7 separate regions of the Homo sapiens genome follow, and regions 1, 2, 3, 5, 6 and 7 are each linked to region 4. Evidence: promoter capture Hi-C in 16 types of primary human blood cells and fetal thymus (Javierre and others, 2016). All regions are on one chromosome and are shown on one strand. Each heading gives the region's core, a stretch centred on a gene start or on the middle of the fragment in contact. The rest is flanking DNA. Distances are from core to core; before and after follow the strand shown. Region 1 has its middle 35 kb from the start of FXYD5. Region 2 overlaps HPN (hepsin). Region 3 overlaps LOC124904701 (hepatitis A virus cellular receptor 1-like). Region 4 holds the start of GAPDHS (glyceraldehyde-3-phosphate dehydrogenase, spermatogenic). Region 5 holds the start of FXYD1 (FXYD domain containing ion transport regulator 1). Region 6 holds the start of KIRREL2 (kirre like nephrin family adhesion molecule 2). Region 7 overlaps HPN-AS1 (HPN antisense RNA 1).

Region 1 (2,864 bases), core at 248-2,747, 340 kb before region 4:
GCCTGGCCAACATAGTGAAACCCTGTCTCTACTAAAAATACAAAAAAATTAGCCAAGAGTGGTGGCGGGCGCCTGTAGTCCCAGCTATTTGGGAGGCTGAGGCAGGAGAATCGCTTGAACCCAGGAGGTGGAGATTGCAGATCGCCACCATGCCTGGCTAATTTTTGTATTTTTAGTAGAGACAGGGTTTCGCCATGTTGGCCAGGCTGGTCTCGAACTCCTGACCTCAGGTGATCCTCTCACCTGAACCTCCCAAAGTTCTATGATTACAGGCATGAGCCACTGTGCCCAGCCGCATGATTTTGATTTTAATTTTAAAATCAAAATTTTATACAGATTTGTTTTGTTGCCTAGTGCAGGTTCTATCCTACAGAATATTCTCCGTGCAGTCGAGAAGATTGTGTATTCTGCTTTTGTTGGGAGAAGTGTGCTATAGTTGTCTGTTATATCTGGTTGATTAATACTGTTCAGATCTTCCATTTTCTTGTTGATTTTATGCCTAGTTGTTCTATCCATTATTGGAAGTGAGGTACTGAAGTCTCCAACTATTATTGTGGATTTGTTCATTTCTCTATTCATTTTTATTAGTTTTTGCTTTATGTATTTTGGTGCTTTATTATTAGATGTATATGTGTTTATATTGTTATATATTCTGATGGACTGACCGCCTTATCATTATACAATGCTTCTCTTTATCTGTAATAACTTTTTTGTTACAAAGCTTATTTTTTCTGACGTTAGTATTGCCACTCCAGCTTTCTTGTAGTCACTGCATGATATATTGATATATTGTCTTTCATCATTTTACTTTACATTTTTGAATCTTACATGTTTTTCCTATAGATAGCTTTTGGCTGTATCTTGGTTTTTAAAAAAAATCTAGTCTGAAATATTTGACTTTTAATTGAATTGTTCATTTCATCAACATTTAATGTTATTATTTATACAATTGGATTTACATCTGCCATATTAGCTTGTGTTTCCTACAAAATTTCTTTATTAGTGCCAGGGGTTTTTTGTTTTATTTATTGATTGATTTTATATTTATTGAGATTTTCTACATAAACAATCATTTCAACTGGGGATGGGAACAGTTTTATTTTTTCCTTCCCAATCTATATGCCTCTTACTTCCATTTCTTGACTTATTACACTGGCTAAGACTTTCAATATGATGTTGAATAGAAATGGTGAACATGCTTGTCTTGTTCCCAATCTTAAGAAAGAAAGCATTCATTTTTCACTGTTTGGTATGATATTAGCTGTAGGCTTTTTGATGCTCTTTATCAGGTTGATGAAGTTCTCTTCTATTCCTAGTTTGCTAGGATTATTTTTTGCAAAACAAAACAAAACATGTATGAGTGTTTTATTTTGTCAATACTTTGTCTGCACCTATTGATATAATCATGATTTTTCTTCTTTAGATGGTTAATATGGTAATAGTGATTGATTTTAAAAAATTGGACCATTGTTGCATTCTTAGTATAAATCCCATTTGGTCATAGTTTATTGTATTTATTCATTTATTATTATTATTATTTTGAGACAGAGTTTCACTCTTGTTGCCCAGGCTGGAGTGCAATGGCAGGATCTCGGCTCACCCCAACCTCTGCCTCCTGGGTTCAAGTGATTCTCCTGCCTCATCCTCCTAAGTAGCTGGGATTACAGGCTGTGCACCACCATGCCTGGCTAATTTTGTATTTTTAGTAGAGATGAGTTTTCTCCATGTTGGTCAGTCTGGTCTTGAACTCCTGATCTCAGGTGATCCGCCCACCTCAGACTCCCAAAGTGCTGGGATTACAGGTGTGAGCCACCGCGCCCGGCCGGTCATAGTTTACTACTCATTTTACATATTGCCGAGTTCAATTTGCTAACATTTTATTGAGTATTTTTGCATCTATATTCATGAGGAGTATTTTAGTTGTGTTTATTATTATTTTTTGTACTGTCTATCTGGTTTGTCATCAGGGTAATGCTGGCTTCATAACATGAGTTGGAGAGTATTTCTCCTTTTGTATTTTCTGGAAGAAATTATGAAGAATTAGTGCTATTTCTTCTTTAAATTACTTATTTAAAACCATTGAAACCACCTGGGCCAGGAGATTTTTTAAAATGGCATTAACTATACATGCAATTTATTTAATAGTTACTAGACTATTCATATTATCTATTTCAACAGTGGTGAATGTAGTAGCTGGTAGTTTTTGAGAAATTGGTCCATTTCATCTAAATTTTGATATTTATGTGTATAGAGTTATTACTGATATTCCTTTATAAGCTTTTTAATAATTATAGGGTCTGTGGTGATAGCTGTCCTCTTTCTACCCTAATATTGATAATCCCTCCCTTCTCTCTCTTCTCTCTTTATCTCTACCTCTATCTCTTTCTCTCCCTTCTTCTCTCCTCAGTCTTGTTAGAGGTTTATCAATTTTACTGATCTTTTCAAAGAAACAGCTTTTGGTTTTACTGATTTCTTCTATTGCTTTTTTGTTTTCATTGATTTTTGCACTTATTTTTTCCTTGCTCTTCATTTGGGTTTATTTTGCTCTTCATTTTCTAATTTCCTATGGTGAAAACTTAGATTATTGACTTGAGATCTTTCTTCTTTTCTAATATAATCAACATTTAAGACTATACATTTTTATATAAGCACTTCTTTAACAGAATTCCACAAATTTTGATAGGTTTCTTACTTTCTTTCAGCTACAAATATTTCCTAATTCCCTTTGGAATGTCCTATTTTTCAAATGATTAAAGATTGTCCTGTTATCTTCCTGTTATTGATTTCTAGTTTAATGCTGGCCAGGTATGGTGGCTCATGCCTGTTATCTCAGCACTTTGGGATGCCAGAGCAGGAGGATCACT
Region 2 (2,700 bases), core at 134-2,633, 480 kb before region 4:
AGACAGAAATACAAAAGCACAGTGTCACTGGGGAGGAGACATTCCCTAAGTGCCAGGAAAGTGCAGGGCGGAGGTGGAGACCGTGGCAGGTGGCCCGGCCATGCCCCCCTCCCAGCTGGAACCCTGGGGGAGCTGGGCACCTGGTTGTTCACACGGCAGGGGAGGAACAGCCCTGTCAACTGCTGGCCCCGGGAAACTGGGCCTGGGGAGGACATGCTTGGGCATAATAAGTTAGCCCTGGGGGCAGGGCAGAGCTGGCCTCGGGCCCAGACCCTGCCGCAATGAGGACAGGCCTGGCTGTGGCCCCAGCATGGTGTCTGTTGCAGGTGGCCGGACTGTGCCATGCTGCTCCAGACCCAAGGTGGCAGCTCTCACTGCGGGGACCCTGCTACTTCTGACAGCCATCGGGGCGGCATCCTGGGCCATTGGTGAGAGCGGTTCCTGTGCCTCTGACCTCCCCTGGCCCCTGCAGCCTCCAGCCTGCCTGCCCTCACCCCTCCCTTCTCTGCAGTGGCTGTTCTCCTCAGGAGTGACCAGGAGCCGCTGTACCCAGGTGAGTGGAGCAGGCTGGGACCCTCTGGGGGAGCCCTGGAGGACACGTGTATCTGGCGGGAGCTCAACAAGCGTATTTGTTGAATAAATGCACAAATGCATGCAGAAATGCTAATCATAATAGTGCATTTGTATTGAGTGCCTGCTATGTACCAGGCACTATTCTAAGCACCCCACATGTCTAACCCAGACTTTTTCAGACACCAGTGTATTACTCATGAGTGCCTCATAAAATTAAATTAGTGAGTTGGAAAACCATGTTTTTTTTTTAAGTATGAAATAGATTCGATTACAGACTATCACAGTACATCTCTCAGTAAGTAAAGGTTATGCTAATTTTTGTTTGTTTTTTTTTTTTTTTGCATCCATATACATGTAATCCCACTGCATCCCCACACTCTGAGGGTGGGACTGTTATTCTCCCTGTTTTACAGATGGGGAAACTGAGGCTTTGAGCAATGCAGCAGTTTGCCCCAGACTACAGAGCTATGGGCTACATCAGGATGTAAAAATGTGTTTCTTACTGCGTGGCATGGTGAAAACATGTTGGGGAGGCATGATATAAATTCAGTGGACCCTTCTAACTCTCCTAGGAGGTAGTTTTTTTGTTTGTTTGTTTTAAAAAAGAAAAAAGTCTTGCTCTGTCACCCAGGCTAGAGTGCAATGGTGCAGTCTCAGCTCACCGCAACCTCTGCCTCCCAGGTTCAAGCGATTCTCCTGCTTCAGCCTCCCAAGTACCTGGGAATACAGGCGTGTGCCACCATGCCCAGTTAATTTTTTGTATTTTTAGTAGAGATGAGATTTCACCATGTTGGCCAGGACGGTCTCTATCTCCTGACCTTGTGATCCACCCGCCTCGGCCTCCCAAAGTGCTGGGATTACAGGCATGAGCCACTGCGCCTGTCCCTGGTAATTAGCTCCATTTTACAGATGTGCAAAATGAGGACCAGAGAGGACATGCAGCTGGGGAACGAGGGGCCAGGAACAGCTCTTAGACTTATCCACTGTAAGTGTGTCTGCAGGCATGTGGAATGAATGGCCACACAAATAAATAGATAAAGAAACTAACTGTGGGATGAATGAATGAATCTTCCCAAATGCCAACTTCAAGCTGCCATTCCCTGATGCAGGACAGCAGGAAAAAAGGGGAAGTTGGGTGGTGGGATGTATTTTTCATGTCTGTGAGCCTCATCTAATTCCATAAAGGATTCAGTTCACACTAAAATCAGAAATGAAAATCCAGACAAGAAAAGCCAACATCAACATTAATCATCATTACCAGCACTTAGCATTTGTATGCACCAGCCAAGGCCTTGGGACCTTATGATATCAACTCATTAAGTCTTCCCAACAACCTGTTGTTTTTCTTTTCTTTTTTTTTTCTTTCTTTCTTTCTTTCTTTTTTTTTTTTTTTTTTTTGAGATGGGGTCTTGCTCTGTCGCCCAGGCTGGAGTGCAGTGACACGATCTTAGCTCATTGTAACCTACATCTCCTGGGCTCAAGCAATCCTCCCATCTCAGCCTTCTGAGTAGCTGGGACTATAGGCTAATGCCACCATGCCTACACAAAATTATTTTGTCAATAACAAATTATTGTTATTTTTATCTTTTTGAGCCAGAGTCTCGCTGTGTCGCCCAGGCAGGAGTGCTGTGGCGCGATCTTGGCTCACTGCAATCTCCATCTCCCAGGTTCAAGTGATTCTCCTGCCTCAGCCTCCTGAGTAGCTAGGACTACAGGCACGTGCCACCACACCCAGCTAATTTTTGTATTTTTAGTAGAGGCGGGGTTTCACCATGTTGGCCAGGATGGTCTCAAACTCCTGACCTCAGGTGATCCACCCGTCTCGGCCTCCCAAAGTGCTGGGACTACAGGCATGAGCCACCACACCCAACCTCATTTTTTAAATTTTTAGTAGAGATGGGATCTTGCTACATTGCCCAGTCTGATCTTGAACTCCTGAGCTCAAAGCAGTCCTCTCAGATCAGCCTCCCAAAGTGCAGGGATTACAGGTGTGCACCACCACAACCCATTTTCCTATGGGGATGCTGAGGCACAGAAAGGCTGAGTGACTTGCCCCAGGTCATGGAGCTAGTCAGTGTCAGGGCTGGGATTTGAACCCAGGCAGCCTGCGTAGTAACTGTATATAGT
Region 3 (2,959 bases), core at 181-2,680, 440 kb before region 4:
AGAGTGCACGGGCGCCATCTTAGCTCACTGCAGCTTCAAATTCCCTGGCTCAAATGATACTCCCCCTCAGTCACCTGAGTAGCTGGGACTTCAGTTGCGTGCCACCATGTCTGGCTAATTTTTAAATTTTTTGTAGAGATGAGGTCTGACCGTATCGCCCAGGCTGGTCTCAAACTCCTGGACTCAAGGGATCCTTCTGCCTCAGCCTCGCAAAGTACTAGGATTACAGGCATCAGCCACCACACCCAAACCATTTGTATTATTTTGATGGCCAACATTTGAGTAGTGATCACACATCAGGTCCCATACTGCTAATAATAATAATTAAAATGTGGCCAGGCGCGGCGGCTCATGCCTATAATCCCAGAACTTTGGGAGGCTGAGGCGAGTGGATCACCTGAGGTCAGGAGTTCTAGACCAGCCTAGCCAACATGGTAAAACCCAGTCTCTACTAAAAATACAAAAATTAGCTGGGCGTGGTGGTGTAGCAGGACGAGCTGCAGACAAAACCCCTCAGACACTGAGTTAAGGAAGGAAGGGCTTTATTTGGCCAGGAGCATCGGCAAGACTCACGTCTCAAAAAACCGAGCTCCCCGAGTGAGCAATTCCTGTCCCTTTTAAGGGCTCGCAACTCTAAGAGGGTCCACGTGAGAGGGTCGTGATCTATTGAACAAGCAGGGGGTATGTGACTGGGGGCTGCATGCACCAGTAAGAACAGAACAGAACAGGACAGGGATTTTCACAGTGCTTTTCTATACAATGTCTGTAATCTATAGATAACATAACTGGTTTGGTCAGGGGTGGATCTTTAACTACCAGGCCCAGGGTGTGGCGCCGGGCTGTCTGCCTGTGGATTTCATTTCTGTCTTTTGGCTTTTACTTCTTTCTTTGGAGGCAGAAATTGGGCATAAGACAATATGAGGGGTGGTCTCCTCCCTTAGTGGCAGGCACCTATAATCCCAGCTACTCGGGGGCTGAGACAGGATAATCACCTGAACCCGGGAGGCAGAGGTTGCAGTGAGCCGAGATTGTACCATCGCACTCCAGCCTGGGGGACAAGAGTGAGACTTCGTCTCAAAAAAAAAAATTTTAAATGTATTGGGGGCTGGGCACAGTGGCTCACACCTGTAATCCCAACACTGTGGGAGGCCAAGGTGGGCGGATCACTTGAGGTCAGGAGTTGGAGACTAGCCTAGCCAACATGTCAAAACCCTGTCTCTACTGAAAAATACAAAAATAAGCCGGGCATGGTGGCACATGCCTGTAGTCCCAGCTACTTGGGAGGCTGAGGCACAAGAATTGCTTGAACCCAGGAGGCAGAGGTTGCAGTGAGCTGAGATAACACCACTGCACTCCAGCCTGGGTGACAGAGCAAGACTCCATCTCAAAAAAATAATTAAATGAATAAGCTAAAATATATTGGGTATTTACTTTGTGTTCATGCCTGGGCTAAGCATTTTATGAATAGTAATAATAATAATAATGGCTAATATATTAAGAGTTTGGGCATTTACAATGTGCCTTGTGTAAGCATATTAAAATAATGGTGATATTAACAATAATAATGGCTGGTATGTACCAGGCATCTGCTGTATTGCTGTGCTAACCAGTTAATGATATATAATGATAACCATCGTGAACATATTTTGGTCATTTGCTGCGTGTGTAATCCTGTCATCGGGATAAAAGGTAATATTTTCTGAGTGCTTATTATGCCTTGAGCACTGGGCCAGCATGTTATTAATAATGGTATCAGATATATGTCAAGAACTTGGTTACTGTAGGCCAGCTGGGTGGTGAGAGCCTCATGCGTATGACCGCACTGACCTTCAAACAGCCCTTTGATTGCCTCCAATGTGCAGAGGGGGAAACTGAGGCTACAGGATGCACAGAGATCTCAAGGGACAGAGCTAGGTCTGGACTCCAGGTCTCTCTGACCCCAAAATTGTGCTGCTAATCACTAGGCTGTGCTTTCCACTGAGAGAAAGCAGGTGTCACAAGTTTGCTGCCCTCTGGGTAAGGCAGTAGCCTGTCATGATGGTCAGACCCCCAGCTGTTGAATCTGGGCATGGCATTCCTGCCCATCCCATGCTGAGCCGGCCCCTGAGCCTCTGCTCTTCTGGGTCAGCTGCCAGGCCAGCCTCGGGCCTCCACCAGGCCCTGTTTGGGTCCACCTGGGCTGGGCTGGGCAGGGCATGCTGATCTGGCCTCCGACCTGGTCTGGCTGAACCGATGCACCCGCCGCTGCAGCTGTGACAGAACGGGGCATTTCCGCTGCAGCCCGGCGTGCTGCCCCACTGGGAAGATCTGTGGTCTGCAGGGTGGCCAGCTGGGCTGCCAGAGCCCCCTGGGCACCTGCATGGCCACTGGAGATCCTCATTACTTCACCTTCGATGGGGCCATAGCCCACTTCCAGGGCACCTGCACCTACCACCTGGCCTATGCCATCCATCCATTCATCCATCTATCATCCATCCACTCATCCATCCTTCCATCCATTCATCCATTCATCCATCCATCCATCCATCCATCCATCCATCCATCCATCCATCTATCCACTCATCCATCCTTCCATCCATCCACTCACAAAATTTTTCTGAGTATCTACTTTGTAGCAGGCCCTGCTGTAGGCTCTGGAGACACAGCAAAGAACAAAAGAGACAGGTCTCTTCTCTCCTAGAGTGCACATTATAATAGTGAGAGACAAACAGTAAAAAATAAATACATAATATTTCAGATGGTGATAAGTCCTAGAAAAATAAAACTAGAAAGGAGAATCAGGAGTGCTTGTGAGTATGGGGTGGGAGTTATAATTTTTAAACAGGGTGAGCAGGAAAAGCCTCATTGAGGAGGTGACTTTGGAGCAGAGACTTGCTGGAGGGAAGGAGAAGCCTTATGAGCAATGAGGGAAGAGCCCTCCAGGCACAGGGAACCTTAGGTGCAAAGTCCAGACGCAGAA
Region 4 (3,061 bases), core at 90-2,589:
ACATTTATTCATTCAGGTATAGTTTATTGGGCTAACGCCTTTTTCAGACAGGGTCTTGCTCTGTCTCCCAGCTGGAGTGCAGTGACACAATCACAGCTCACTGCAGCCTTGACCTCCTAGGCTCAAGTGATCCTCCCACCTCAGCCTCCCTAATAATTGGGACAACAGGCATGCACCACCACACCTGGCTACTTTTTTTATTTTTTGTAGATACAGGGTTTTGCCACATTGCCCATGTTGGTCTCAAACTCCTGGACTCAAATGATCCTCCCACCTCAGCCTCCCAAAGTGTTGGGATTACAGGCATGAGCCACTGCGTCCAGCCCACAAACACCTTTCAGGTGCCAAACACTTTTCTTGTCAATGGGATACAGAAGTGACATAGATGACGTCCCTGTCCTCTCAGAGCTTACAGTCTGGTGGACAGAGACAGTTGGCAAGAAAACAAACAATTTTTAGAGAGACATGTGCTCTAAGGAAAATAAAAACATAGACAGTGTAGCCCTAGAGAAATTTTGCACACTGAAGCATAACTCAGAATGGAGAAGTCAGACAAGGCTTCCTGGAAGATGGGCAGAAATTGGGAAGGGGGTGACGGCTGACAGTGACAGAGAAAGGAGGGAACTTAGATGCAGAGTGTAGAAAGCCTCTCTTAAAGGGTGGGAAACCAAGAGGCAGCCAAGGGAAGCCCTGGGTGGGCCTTCCAGGCATACGGAGGCAGCAAGAGTCACTCCACTGGAGAATCCAAGGGACAGCATGGAACCTGTGTGCTTCAAGAGACAGAGAAGAGGAAAGGGCTTTCAGGAACAGTGTAAAAGGTGGGATTCCAGGCTGGGTGTGGTGGCTCGCTCCTGTAATCCCAGCATTTTGGAAGGCCGAGGTGGGAGGATCGCTTGAGCCCAAGGGTTCTAGACCAGCCTGAGCAAAAGAGTGAGACCCTCTCTCTACAAAAAAATAAAAAGTAAAAATAGCCTGCAGTGGTGGCTGCACATGTAGTCCCAGCTACTCAGGAGGCCGAGGCGGGAGGATCGCTTGAGCCCAGGAGTTCAAGGCTGCAGTGAGCCATGATTGCACCACTGCACTCCAGCCTAGGAGAAAGAGTGACACCCCGTCTCAAAATAAATAAACAAATGATAATTTTAAAAAGTGGGATTCCATTCCAGACGGCAGTGCGTGGCCGTGGAACGGTGATGCATAGCGTGCTGACGTCCCATGCCTCTACGGGGATGGGATGCGATGGTGTCAGGCCTCTGGCTTGGGCGCCGCCCCTCGGCGACGTCACTGGGTACTGTGACGTCACTGGGTGCTGTGACATCAGGGCAATTAGCCCAGGACCCACAGCCCTGGCGCTCCGCACGCACCTCGGTAACATCACAGCAGGTCCAGGCCAATGATAACCTTATAAGAGGCCATGTCGAAGCGCGACATCGTCCTCACCAATGTCACCGTTGTCCAGTTGCTGCGACAGCCGTGCCCGGGTGAGGGAGGCAGCGGAGGGCGCGGGGGAGGGGTGGAAAGGGTAGTGGGGAGCGTCTGCACCCTCACACCTGTGCCGTATCCCTACCGCCCTTCCTGGCGTGTGCACCATCTAGGGACCAGGGGATCAGCCGCTCTCCCTCCCTCCACACCCGCCAGTGTGCTGGCAGAGTGGGGTTTACTGCCATGGCGGGGAGACCGGGCCTCCGCCCCCAGGGCTGGGTGGGCTTCGCGCCGCTATCACGCGGTAGAAAGAGCAGAAACGAGGGCCATCGGAGGCTGCAGCCTGAAAGTGGCGGGAAGTGGGCGGGCTTAGGAGGGGCTTAGGGAGAACCCAGGGGTGCTGGGCTTCCATGTAAAAGTGATGTTCATGGCGCTTCGCGTGAGGTGAGCTTTGCCCTCCCTGTGATGCACAAAACAAGGACACTTGGAACCTTGCCGGGGACGTGCTGACCACTTCGCAGGCGAGAGCTCAGGGAAGCCTCACCACCACCTGAGAAGGCCAGAGTGTGCCCGCAGTTTACAGAGCGGCCAACAGAGGTTAAGAGAGGGCAAACTACTTCCTTAGTCTCTCAACAAGGGCGGCGCGCCCGCGCGCGCGCACACACACACACACACACTCACTCACTCACTCTAGCCGGAGGAACCAGGTCTTCCGGTGGGCTGCCTCCATTCCCACACTGTTCCCTCACTTCCCAAGGGCGGGGGCCGCAGGGGTAGGTGGGGCTGGGGCTTTGGTCCAGGAGACCCTGGAAGACACAGGAGCAGACAGGCTTACCAGCCTCATGAGACTTGAACCCCTGCCCTGCGCATCACTGCTCCGTGGCCTCAGGCTTCATTTTCCCCTCTGTAAAGTGGGTTTATAGCGCATGCCTCTCGGGATTCAGTGGGAGGACGCAGTGAGGAGCTGGGGGCAGCACCCAGCTAGCCCCCAGGCTTTTCTCCAACCGGGGGACCCCACCCCTACAGTGGAGGGGAAGAGAGTGCAAGGCTGGGAGTGCTGGGAGAGGAGGACCATCTGAGTTTTCTTCGGAAGGGTCACCCATTGGGCTCAGATTCCCACCTGAACCAGGTGGACAAATCCCCTTTCTCCCATAGCAGAAACAACCCCCAAGGATGCAAACATCCTCAAGTTCACCAATAAACACTAACACCTTCATGAACTTGGACAGCCACTGGAAACACCTATAGTCCAGCCTCAGGCCACAAGGTCTGTGGCAACAGGGAGAGGTCAGGGAGACAGACAGGCCAGCTGGCCCCCGGCTCCCAGCCCCACCACCCCCCAGGTGCCTTTGATTTGGTGCCAAAAACTTGGACTCCCACTACCCCCTTCCAGCCCTTCTCCACCCCCTGCTGTCTCCCTTTCCTCAGGAATCTGTGTAGGATCAGACTTCCCTCCTCTATTAAAATCAGCTCCTATGTGTGGGCCTCGAGATCTCACTGCGCCCTCACAGCAGCCCCTAGGTGGGGGATCAGCCCCAAGAGGTTCATTAACTTGCTCAAATCCACAGAGCAGCAGGTCTGTGTGGACTGAGCCAGGCTTGACTTTCCAGCTTGAAACTCTCTGCCACCAGGTCCCCTGAGT
Region 5 (2,969 bases), core at 400-2,899, 390 kb before region 4:
GTGAAAATGAGGCACAGAGCTGCTCAAGTTCACACAACCAGGAGTGCAGTGCCTGGGCCATTCCAGGTTTCCCTGTCACCAGGACCTGTAAACCTGGCCTGCCCATGGGGACGCCAGGTGTGTTGTCCCCGACAAGAGCTCAGGGGAAGGAAAGTGTGGGGTTAAATACATATCTGTGGTTTTGGAATGTGTGAACATGCAAGTGTGTCAGCCTGCGCATCTGTCACCGTGGCCAACCATGTGCCTGTTTGCTCAAGCATAGGGTGTGAACCAGTGTGTGTGTTTCTGCTTTTGTGGGTATGTGTGAGAGCGGCGGGTTGTCCTTGATGGTGTTTCTGCTTGTGTATCTGTGCCCATGGAAATCTGTCTGTGTGTACACAAGCTTGTTGGCCTTCCTATCTTTGGGACCATGTAGGAGTGCTGGCTGCATGTCTGTACCTTTGGGGTTTTTTTGTTTTGTTTTTGTTTTTGAGACAGAGTCTCGCTCTGTTGCCCAGGCTAGAGTGCAGTGGCATGATCTCAGCTCACTGCAAGCTCTGCCTCCCGGGCTCAAGTGACTCTCCTGCCTCAGCCTCCGGAGTAGCCGTGATTACAGGCGCACGCCACCACACCCAGCTAATTTTTGTATATTTTTTTAGTAGAGACGAGCTCTCGTCGGGTTGGCCAGGCTGGTGTTGAACTCCTGGCCTCAAGTGATCCTCCCGCCTTGGCCTCCCAAAGTGCTGGGAGTACAGGTGTGAGCCACCGTACCTGGCCATGTTTGGCCATGCATCTTAGAATGCATTTATGTGCGGTGTGCACATACTTGTGTGTTTCTGTATGGCCATTTGTGGGTGGGTCTTCACATAAACATGCATTTTTGTGGCCAGTTTGTGAGTGTAGATGGTGATGTGGCTATGTCTTTGACTGTATCTCTGTGTGGCCATCCATCTACATGAGCGTGCGTGGGTCTGTGTAGACATAAATGTGCTTGTTCTGGTATTTTGTGACTGGCATAAAAGGTGTTGGCTGTGTGTCCGGGTCTTTGGGTTTCTCTATCAGTGTGTCATTCTGTGTGTGTCTGCTTCTATGGATGTACATACATACATGGTTTTGTCTGGTTTTGTACCTGTATATCTGGGTCTTTGGGATTGTGTGTGGGTGTGTGTGTGTGGTGCATTTCTGGGGATCTCACCACAGCAGATAGCGCACATGCGCGCGCACACACACACACACACACACACCTCCCTCCCGTCCTCTAAAACAGCCCTGTTAAGGACCTCACGGAGCACTGGGATCGGGGGTCAGTGGGCTCCTGGGCAGTCAGGCTGGGTGACCTTCGGCCCTGGCTGGACCCAGTTCCCAGGGGGCAGCCGCCTCAGCCCAAAAGCTCTTGGAGGCGTGTGTGTTTGTGTGTGTGTGTGTTCACAACCCTGTCCTCCACAATCCTCCTAGCCTCTCCAGCCTGCCTGCTGGCTGCCTGCTGCTGCTCTCTCTGAACTGAGAGAGTTAACCAAGCGGGCCAGGGCAGTCTGGGCTGGGGGCCGCCCCCTGGCCCCCCTCCAGCCCCAGCTCCAGTTTCAGCTGCTGGTTGGGGAGGGCATGGGTGGGGTGGGGCTGGGAGGGGAGGCTGCTGGGGGCGGCGCGTCCAGCTCTGGGCCAGGGGGTCCAAAGTGCTCAGCCCCCGGGGCACAGCAGGACGTTTGGGGGCCTTCTTTCAGCAGGGGACAGCCCGATTGGGGTGAGCGTCCCCCACTCCTTCCCTCCAGGCCTCACCCCTGGTCTGGCTGGGCCGCCTATTTTGGGAGCAGGAGTGGCCAGCCCGAGGCTTCCCAGGCAGGCCAACCCAAGAGGGAGGGAGTGTGGTTGAGGCAGTGGGTTCTGCAGGGTGGGATGTGGGTGACTCCTCCCTGCCCTGCTGGTGCGTGTGCACCCTGGCAGGGTGTGGAGTTGGGACACACACGTGTGTAGGGCTGGTTGCGTCACTGCGTGGGGGCACCGGAGGCCCAGAGGAGGAGTATTGGATGCCTGACGGTGTTTACACCCCACGTCCTGCTCCAACCAGCAGTTTGGGGAGAGGTTGTTGTTCATGTCCATTCCGGCCCCACTGTGTGTGTGTGTGTGTGTGTGTGTGTGTGTGTGTGTGTGTATCCCTGCCCCAGCATGTGTTTTCTATCTCTAAGGCCCACTGGGCTGGGCCTCATGTCACTTGCCTGACATCCGATTGTGAAAGATGTCACCCAGAGGCGGGCAGAGGGGCTGTCTTTTCCTTTTCTCGTTGCTGCCCAGGGAGGAGACGGGGTGACCTTTCCCACAGGGGCAGCCTGTGGCGATGTGGCAGCTGGGCCTCACCCCGGCAGGGCTGTGCGTGACCCCCTGAGTGGGGGAAGGCAGGCTGTTGCCATGGTGGCCTGAGCGAGCAGAATTCCTCCAGGGTGAAGTGGGAGATATTTATACCCGGGGTCAGGCCGCGAGCGGGCGGGCGGAGAGGGCAGGGAGCTGGGATTTCGCGGGGCACAGTGAGGCCGGGCATGTAGGCAGGTGGGACTTGGGCGTGCCCTGCTGTCTCCTGCTCTGTGTTTGTGTGAGGCAGCGCCTCCTCTGCCCTGCCAGGGTAGGTCTGGGAATCGGGGGCCTGCTGCGGGAGGTGGAGGCCCAAGGGAGGCCCCCCGGGGACTGTGTGTCTCACCCCCGTCCCTGCTACGTTGTGTTGTTGTGTGATCCCATCGTGGAGGTTGTTTTGGTGACACTGTGTCCCCACGAAGCTGGGGATACCCGTTTCTCTAGCTTGGAGCCACCAAGATAGAGGACAAACACTTCTGTGATTCAGTCCCCAGACTGTCTCTGACTTAATCCCTTGGGTTCAAGCCCTATGTGGGAGAGCAAGGGCACACACTGCCTAATCCGTGGTGTCCCCCCCAGGACAATGGCGTCTCTTGGCCACATCTTGGTTTTCTGTGTGGGTCTCCTCACCATGGCCAAGGCAGGTG
Region 6 (3,015 bases), core at 435-2,934, 320 kb after region 4:
TCCTGGGGGCCCTCGCCAGATGGTGTCCCTAGGTGCCAGAGCGTGGAGCTGTCCCTTGCTGGGGCCTTTAATAAGCACAAACCTTCCACCCTCCACCTTGGCTGTTTTCCTTCTCTGCATGCTCCTGGGACCTTGGGCTCTCCATCTTTCCATGTCCGTAGCCCCAGAGAGCCAGGAAGGGGAAGCGGCGTCAAGTGCCTGGAAAAACAGCCCCATGACTTGAGTTCCTCCCTAAGACTCAGGAGTTCCAGCCCCATGTCCATCCTATTTCAAAATCCAGGCACTAGATAAGCCACACAGAAGCCGGGAGTGTAGGCCCCCAGATCCCTCCCCTCTCAGACCCTGGGGTCTCAGTCCCTTCTCTCCAAGGACTCGGGAATTTGGGCCTCTGATCCTCCTGGCCACACTACCCACCCCCGCACCTCCCCATACACACACACACACACACACACACACACACACACACACACACACACACACATACACACAGGACTTAGGACAGATGTTCACGGTCTGATTTCCAAATCCTCCTGGGCCTGTGTGGGGGTGGGGAGAGATTGGCAGATAGATCCACCGACTCTTAAGACTTAAGACCAGATATTCTGACCCCTGTCACCCTCTTCCAAGTGCACCATGCACTTGAGTGCACCTTGAGTCTCCAGCCTCTCAAGGAACCGGGAGATCAGGCCATCAGCGTCTCAGCCAGCAAAGGCCTGAACCACCAGTCCCTTATAACCCTGTAAGTCCAACCCCCACTCCCAACCCCACTCCCCCATTTAGGGACACGGAGTCTGAGCCTAAGAACAGTGGAGAATCTGAATGTGGACCCTCCAGTTCTTACAGGTCCAGGAATGTCAGATCAGGGTCCCAGCCCCCCAGCCCTCCTTCAGGCTGCTCGGGGTCCCTCCCACCTGCTCGGCCAGCTGCGCAGCGTGGGAACGCCCCAGCTGGGCTGCATGGAGCCGTCAGGACAAGCTGCGCGGTTCCCAGCCTCCCTGCCTGCCCCGGCCCGGCACCGCCGCCTCCCAGCCGTCGCCGGGCAACCAGGCCGAGGGGCCCGGCCGGCCGAGTGGGGAGAGGGGTTGGGCTGGGACTGCGGGGTCCTGGGAAAGGAGGGGCCGAGGGCCTGGATTCCTGGGTCTTAGGACGTGCTGTAGTTTGCAGCAATAACAAGGGAACAGAGGGATATTTTGAGGAGGGGTTTTGAGGCTGGGGGAGTCGAGGTAGGGGTCCCAACTGTCCCCCAGGTATCGGTGTGCCCTCTTCCCGACACGCAGGCCCGGGGGAGCCCCGGACCCCGCATCCCCCAGGGCGCGGAAACTGGCGAGGCCCCAGGAGCTCCCATTTATAGCTCAGTTTCCACTGAGCGCAGTCCCTCTAGGACCTGGGCTGAGCAAGTTTCTTCCACTCTCTCCCTTCCCTCCTCCTCACCCCTTGCCTGCCCCTCAACCCCGGCAGGGCGCAGGTGTCCAACCCAGCCGGGACCCCCTCCCTCCTCGAACCCAGGTGTTCCGGCTCCCAGACCCCAATTGAGCTGGGGGCGCCCACCCGCCGGGGGATCCCGCCCTGCGTCCCCCATTCATCCGCGTCTCAGCCGCGGGAGTTTCTCAACGGGAAGAGGGCGGAGCTCCCGGGGGGCGGACCCGGGCGGGGCGAGCGGGATCGGGCCCTCTTGGGGTCTCCCAGAGACCCAGGCCGCGGAACTGGCAGGCGTTTCAGAGCGTCAGAGGCTGCGGATGAGCAGACTTGGAGGACTCCAGGCCAGAGACTAGGCTGGGCGAAGAGTCGAGCGTGAAGGGGGCTCCGGGCCAGGGTGACAGGAGGCGTGCTTGAGAGGAAGAAGTTGACGGGAAGGCCAGTGCGACGGCAAATCTCGTGAACCTTGGGGGACGAATGCTCAGGATGCGGGTCCCCGCCCTCCTCGTCCTCCTCTTCTGCTTCAGAGGGAGAGCAGGTACCGCACGAGGGGAGCGGAGGAATATGGGGTGGGGGTGGGGAGTTGCTTGCGGGCTGCCTCTTCACTAGCGAGAAGGGAGCTGGGGGCTGGGACTCCTGGGTCCTGAATGAGGAGGCCCCTGAAGGTGCTAAGCTCAGCCCTGCTGCCCCGAACTCTCCTAGGCCCGTCGCCCCATTTCCTGCAACAGCCAGAGGACCTGGTGGTGCTGCTGGGGGAGGAAGCCCGGCTGCCGTGTGCTCTGGGCGCCTACTGGGGGCTAGTTCAGTGGACTAAGAGTGGGCTGGCCCTAGGGGGCCAAAGGGACCTACCAGGTAAGAGTGTTCTCTCCACGCTGGGACGGGCTGGCTAGGGGGAGAGTTGCTGGGCTCGGCTGTACCTGCAGTTTCTATTTTGACATTTTCAAGTTTGGGAAATTGATGGGCTCGGGTAAACATTTAGGAGTCCTGATTTTTGAGCTGCTTCTTTGGGGGTGACCCACGGAGTTTGGGAATTATTATGTTATTGCAAAATAGTACATAGGCCAGGTGCAGTGGCTCACGCCTGTAATCCCAACGCTTTGGGAGGTTGAGGCCAGAGGATCGCTTGAAACCAGGAGTTTGAGACCAGCCTGGGCAACATAACAAGACCTTATCTCTACACAAATGTATATATATATTTTAAACAAATTAGCCGGGTATGGTGGTGTGCATCTATAGTCCCAGTTACTCAGGAGGCTTAGGTGGTAGGATTGCTTGAGCCTAGGAGTTCAAGGCTGCAGTGAGCCATGATCAAGCCACTGCACTTCAGGCAATGGTGAGACCCTGTCTCAAAAAAAAAAAAAAAAGAGAACATAAATGCAAAAAAGTACAGTAAATATAAATGGAAGATTTACCAAATAAAATAGACACACACAGCCAATACCCAAGTCCATTGCTAGCTCCCCAGAAGACCCCGTGTTCCTTTCCCCTATCATAGCCCCCTCCCCCTCACTCCAGAAGTAGTATCTAACCTAATTTTTATGGCAATCATTTTCTTGCTTTCCTTCCTGACTTTATTACCCCTAAGTTTGCAGTGACTCT
Region 7 (2,700 bases), core at 170-2,669, 460 kb before region 4:
CCCGACTTCTTTACTGCAGTCTGTTTTATCAGAAAGGTCTTTATGACCTGTATCTTGTGCCGACCTCCTCTCTCATCCTCTGACTTAGAATGCCTTAATTTACCGGGAATGCGGGCCAGCAGGTCTCCGCCTTACTTTACCCAGGTCCTATTTAAGATGGAGTTGCTCTGGTTCAAACGCCTCTGACAGCCATTCTGAGTTCTGTCTGCACTGTTGCTTTGTTGGAGGAGTGGAGGGGCTGGGGAGATTGTGATTCACTCAACAGCCATTCACTGGTTTCCCTTGTATGCCAGGGGTCAGTGAGCCTCAGTTTCTCCTCCTGCTCCCAGCAACCTTGCCACTCACCCCAAAGAGCTAGGAAGATATTTAAAAAGAATAATAACAGTCACAAGGTTGCTTTCAGTTCCTGCCAGGGTCTCAGTCTTCAGAAAAGCTGAATATGAAAATTACTTCCATGTCATTGTGGTGCCGCTCAGAATCAGAAATATTTGACCCATCTTACAGAATTAGTGCAACTACATCAGGAACCCAAGCCAAGTTTTGCATTCCTATTTAGCATTTATATCTACATAGTCCTTTTCAAATATAGAAAAGCTTTCTGGATGTTAGTTGGAACAGATAGCTCCATATGTGGTTATAAGTTGGCATTCTCCCAGCTGGGTTGAAGGAGAAATGTACAGCTACTCTGCCACAACAGTTATTTCATACATAAAATCACAGCCATGATTAGCAATGATGGTGAAGGCTATTCATTTTATATTCAGAAATAATTATTGTGAACATTCAGATAGCAGCATAAGTAGGGAGATGGACTTTAGTTTCTGCATAAAAAGTAACACTGTTTCAATCCTGCAGTTATGAAGCGAGGAGCTGTTTTGGCTCTTGCTGCATGACATACCACCCAAAGCTAGTGGGTACAGTAAATGCTCATGGATTCTGCAGCTCAGAAAGTTGGACAGGGAACAGCAGGCACAGCTTGTCTCTGCTCCCTGATGACCAGGTCCTTAGCTAGAAAGCCTAAAGGAACAGGGACTGGAATAGGGAGGCTTCTTTTGTTTGTTTGTTTTGAAACAGGGTCCCACTCTGTCGCCCAGGCTGGAGTGCAGTGGTGTGATCATGGCTCACTAAAACTTCTACCACCTGGGCTCAATCGATCCTCCCAACTTAGCTTCCCAAGTAACTGGGACTACGGGTGTGTGCCACCATACCCAACTAATTTTATTTTTTTTTTGTAGAGATGGGACTGGTTGCCCAGGCTGGTCTTGAACTCCTGGGCTCAAGTGACCCTCCTGCCTCGGTATCCCAAAAGGAGGCTCTTTACTCACAAGTCTAGTATCCGGGCTGGGATCACTCAAAAGCTGAGCTCAGCTGGTACTGTGGACTCATTGTCTGGCTAACTTGGGCTTCCTTCCAATATGGCTACCCAAGGACATTTGAACTTCTCACGTGGTGGCTCATGGCTCCAGAGTGAGCATTCCAGCAGACACTGGCCTTTACACCCCAGCCTCATTTCTGCTCCACTCTGTCAGCTGAAGCAATCACAAACCTGTCCAGACCCTAGAGGAGGAGATGGAGACCCCACCCTTTGGTGGTGGAAGGCAGGTCAAAAAATTTGGGGCCACATCTTAAAACTGCCCTAGGAGCTTATGGACTATCGGAGCAAATTAACAGCTGACAAAGCAGAGAAATGATCCCTCAGTAAGGTGTTCAACCTGAAATATTTCCCTGCTAAAATTGTGGATAATAAAATTATGACAGTAATAACTTTTTAGAACACTTTCACATTTGTTCTTACATTACAGAAGTTCATTCTAAGAAGGTGATAGTCAGCTTTGGGCAAATCTTTAATTTAATACTTCACTAATTAGCATTTGGCCACAATGCCTGTTTCACTTCTAAATAATAATAATAATTTATATTAATAAACATATCCATGCATATTTTTGAGCACTTCCTATGTGACAGGTACTGTACTGAGAGTTTTATACATGTTACTTCAGTATTTCCCCAAATTCAGATGTTTGAAAGTGGCTGTCTTAATTTTTGCTATTCATTCATTCAAATAATATTTATTAAGCACCTATTATGTGCCAGACACTGTTCTAGGAATTGGAGAAATATAGGGGACAGGACAAACCAACTTTATGGAGCTTAGGGGCAAACAAATACCGCTGGTACTACTTGTATTGTTTTATTCAAATTATCTCTTTTCCTTTTGTGTGTGTGTGTGTGTGTCTTTTTTTTTTAAGCTTAGCCTTGACTTTATTTATGTATTATTTTTATTGATTTATTTATTTTGAGACCGGGTTATGAGACTGGCTAATTTTTGTATTTTTGATAGTGATGGGGTCTCGCTATGCTGCCCAGGCTGGTCTCAGACTCCTGGGCTCAAGCGATCCACCTGCCTTGGCCTCCCAAAGTGCTAGGATTACAGGCATGAGCCACTGTGCCCTGCCAGCCTTGACTTTAACAATAATGTTTATGAAACTGTGGGTTTGAGGCCGGGTGCAGTGGCTCATACCTGCAATCCCAGCACTTTGGGAGGCCGAGGCGGGTGGATCACGAGGTCAGGAGATTGAGACCATCCTGGCTAACACGGTGAAACCCCATCTCTACTAAAAATACAAAAAAATTAGCCAGGCATGGTGGCGGGTGCCTGTAGTCCCAGCTACTCAGGAGGCTGAGACAGGAGAATGGCGT

The links. Contacts are between HindIII fragments. The CHiCAGO score rates a contact against its expected background, and 5 or more counts as called.
Region 1: a contact is called between a fragment that was not itself captured here and the fragment with the promoter of GAPDHS in region 4, in 1 of 17 cell types (monocytes). The highest score is 5.4, in monocytes.
Region 2: a fragment that was not itself captured here is called in contact with the fragment with the promoter of GAPDHS in region 4 in 4 of 17 cell types (naive B cells, total B cells, total CD4 T cells and 1 more); the score reaches 6.5 in naive B cells.
Region 3: a contact is called between a fragment that was not itself captured here and the fragment with the promoter of GAPDHS in region 4, in 1 of 17 cell types (non-activated CD4 T cells). The highest score is 5.6, in non-activated CD4 T cells.
Region 5: the fragment with the promoter of FXYD1 here is called in contact with the fragment with the promoter of GAPDHS in region 4 in 10 of 17 cell types (monocytes, erythroblasts, activated CD4 T cells and 7 more); the score reaches 8.8 in monocytes.
Region 6: a contact is called between the fragment with the promoter of KIRREL2 here and the fragment with the promoter of GAPDHS in region 4, in 5 of 17 cell types (M0 macrophages, M2 macrophages, erythroblasts and 2 more). The highest score is 12.1, in M0 macrophages.
Region 7: a fragment that was not itself captured here is called in contact with the fragment with the promoter of GAPDHS in region 4 in 4 of 17 cell types (M0 macrophages, M1 macrophages, naive CD8 T cells and 1 more); the score reaches 6.8 in M0 macrophages.

What each region holds. Positions count from the first base shown.
Region 1 is chr19:35,188,434-35,191,297 of GRCh38, forward strand. No RefSeq gene overlaps it. Among named protein-coding and RNA genes, the nearest start is that of FXYD5, 35 kb to the left of the region's middle. The HindIII fragment of the contact is 1,556 bases long and covers 720-2,275 here.
Region 2 is chr19:35,048,964-35,051,663 of GRCh38, forward strand. HPN (hepsin) reads left to right here. Exons shown (of 13, transcript NM_001384133.1): 3 at 327-428; 4 at 512-553. Among named protein-coding and RNA genes, the nearest start is that of HPN, 8.6 kb to the left of the region's middle. The HindIII fragment of the contact is 5,328 bases long and covers 1-2,700 here.
Region 3 is chr19:35,091,927-35,094,885 of GRCh38, forward strand. The region is part of intron 1 of LOC124904701 (hepatitis A virus cellular receptor 1-like); the gene reads left to right. All of the region lies in intron 2 of HPN-AS1 (HPN antisense RNA 1), which reads right to left. Among named protein-coding and RNA genes, the nearest start is that of HPN-AS1, 13 kb to the right of the region's middle. The HindIII fragment of the contact is 6,053 bases long and covers 1-2,959 here.
Region 4 is chr19:35,532,117-35,535,177 of GRCh38, forward strand. It overlaps GAPDHS (glyceraldehyde-3-phosphate dehydrogenase, spermatogenic), which reads left to right and starts at 1,340. Exons shown (of 11, transcript NM_014364.5): 1 at 1,340-1,478. The coding sequence starts at 1,412. RefSeq lists an enhancer at 2,197-2,326. The HindIII fragment of the contact is 5,250 bases long and covers 1-3,061 here.
Region 5 is chr19:35,137,175-35,140,143 of GRCh38, forward strand. It overlaps FXYD1 (FXYD domain containing ion transport regulator 1), which reads left to right and starts at 1,650. Exons shown (of 8, transcript NM_021902.4): 1 at 1,650-1,720; 2 at 2,902-2,966. The coding sequence starts at 2,906. The HindIII fragment of the contact is 25,239 bases long and covers 381-2,969 here.
Region 6 is chr19:35,855,227-35,858,241 of GRCh38, forward strand. KIRREL2 (kirre like nephrin family adhesion molecule 2) reads left to right here and starts at 1,685. Exons shown (of 15, transcript NM_199180.4): 1 at 1,685-1,954; 2 at 2,119-2,268. The coding sequence starts at 1,894. The HindIII fragment of the contact is 4,263 bases long and covers 1-3,015 here.
Region 7 is chr19:35,069,265-35,071,964 of GRCh38, forward strand. All of the region lies in intron 3 of HPN-AS1 (HPN antisense RNA 1), which reads right to left. Among named protein-coding and RNA genes, the nearest start is that of HPN, 29 kb to the left of the region's middle. RefSeq lists a silencer at 1,367-1,567. The HindIII fragment of the contact is 1,655 bases long and covers 593-2,247 here.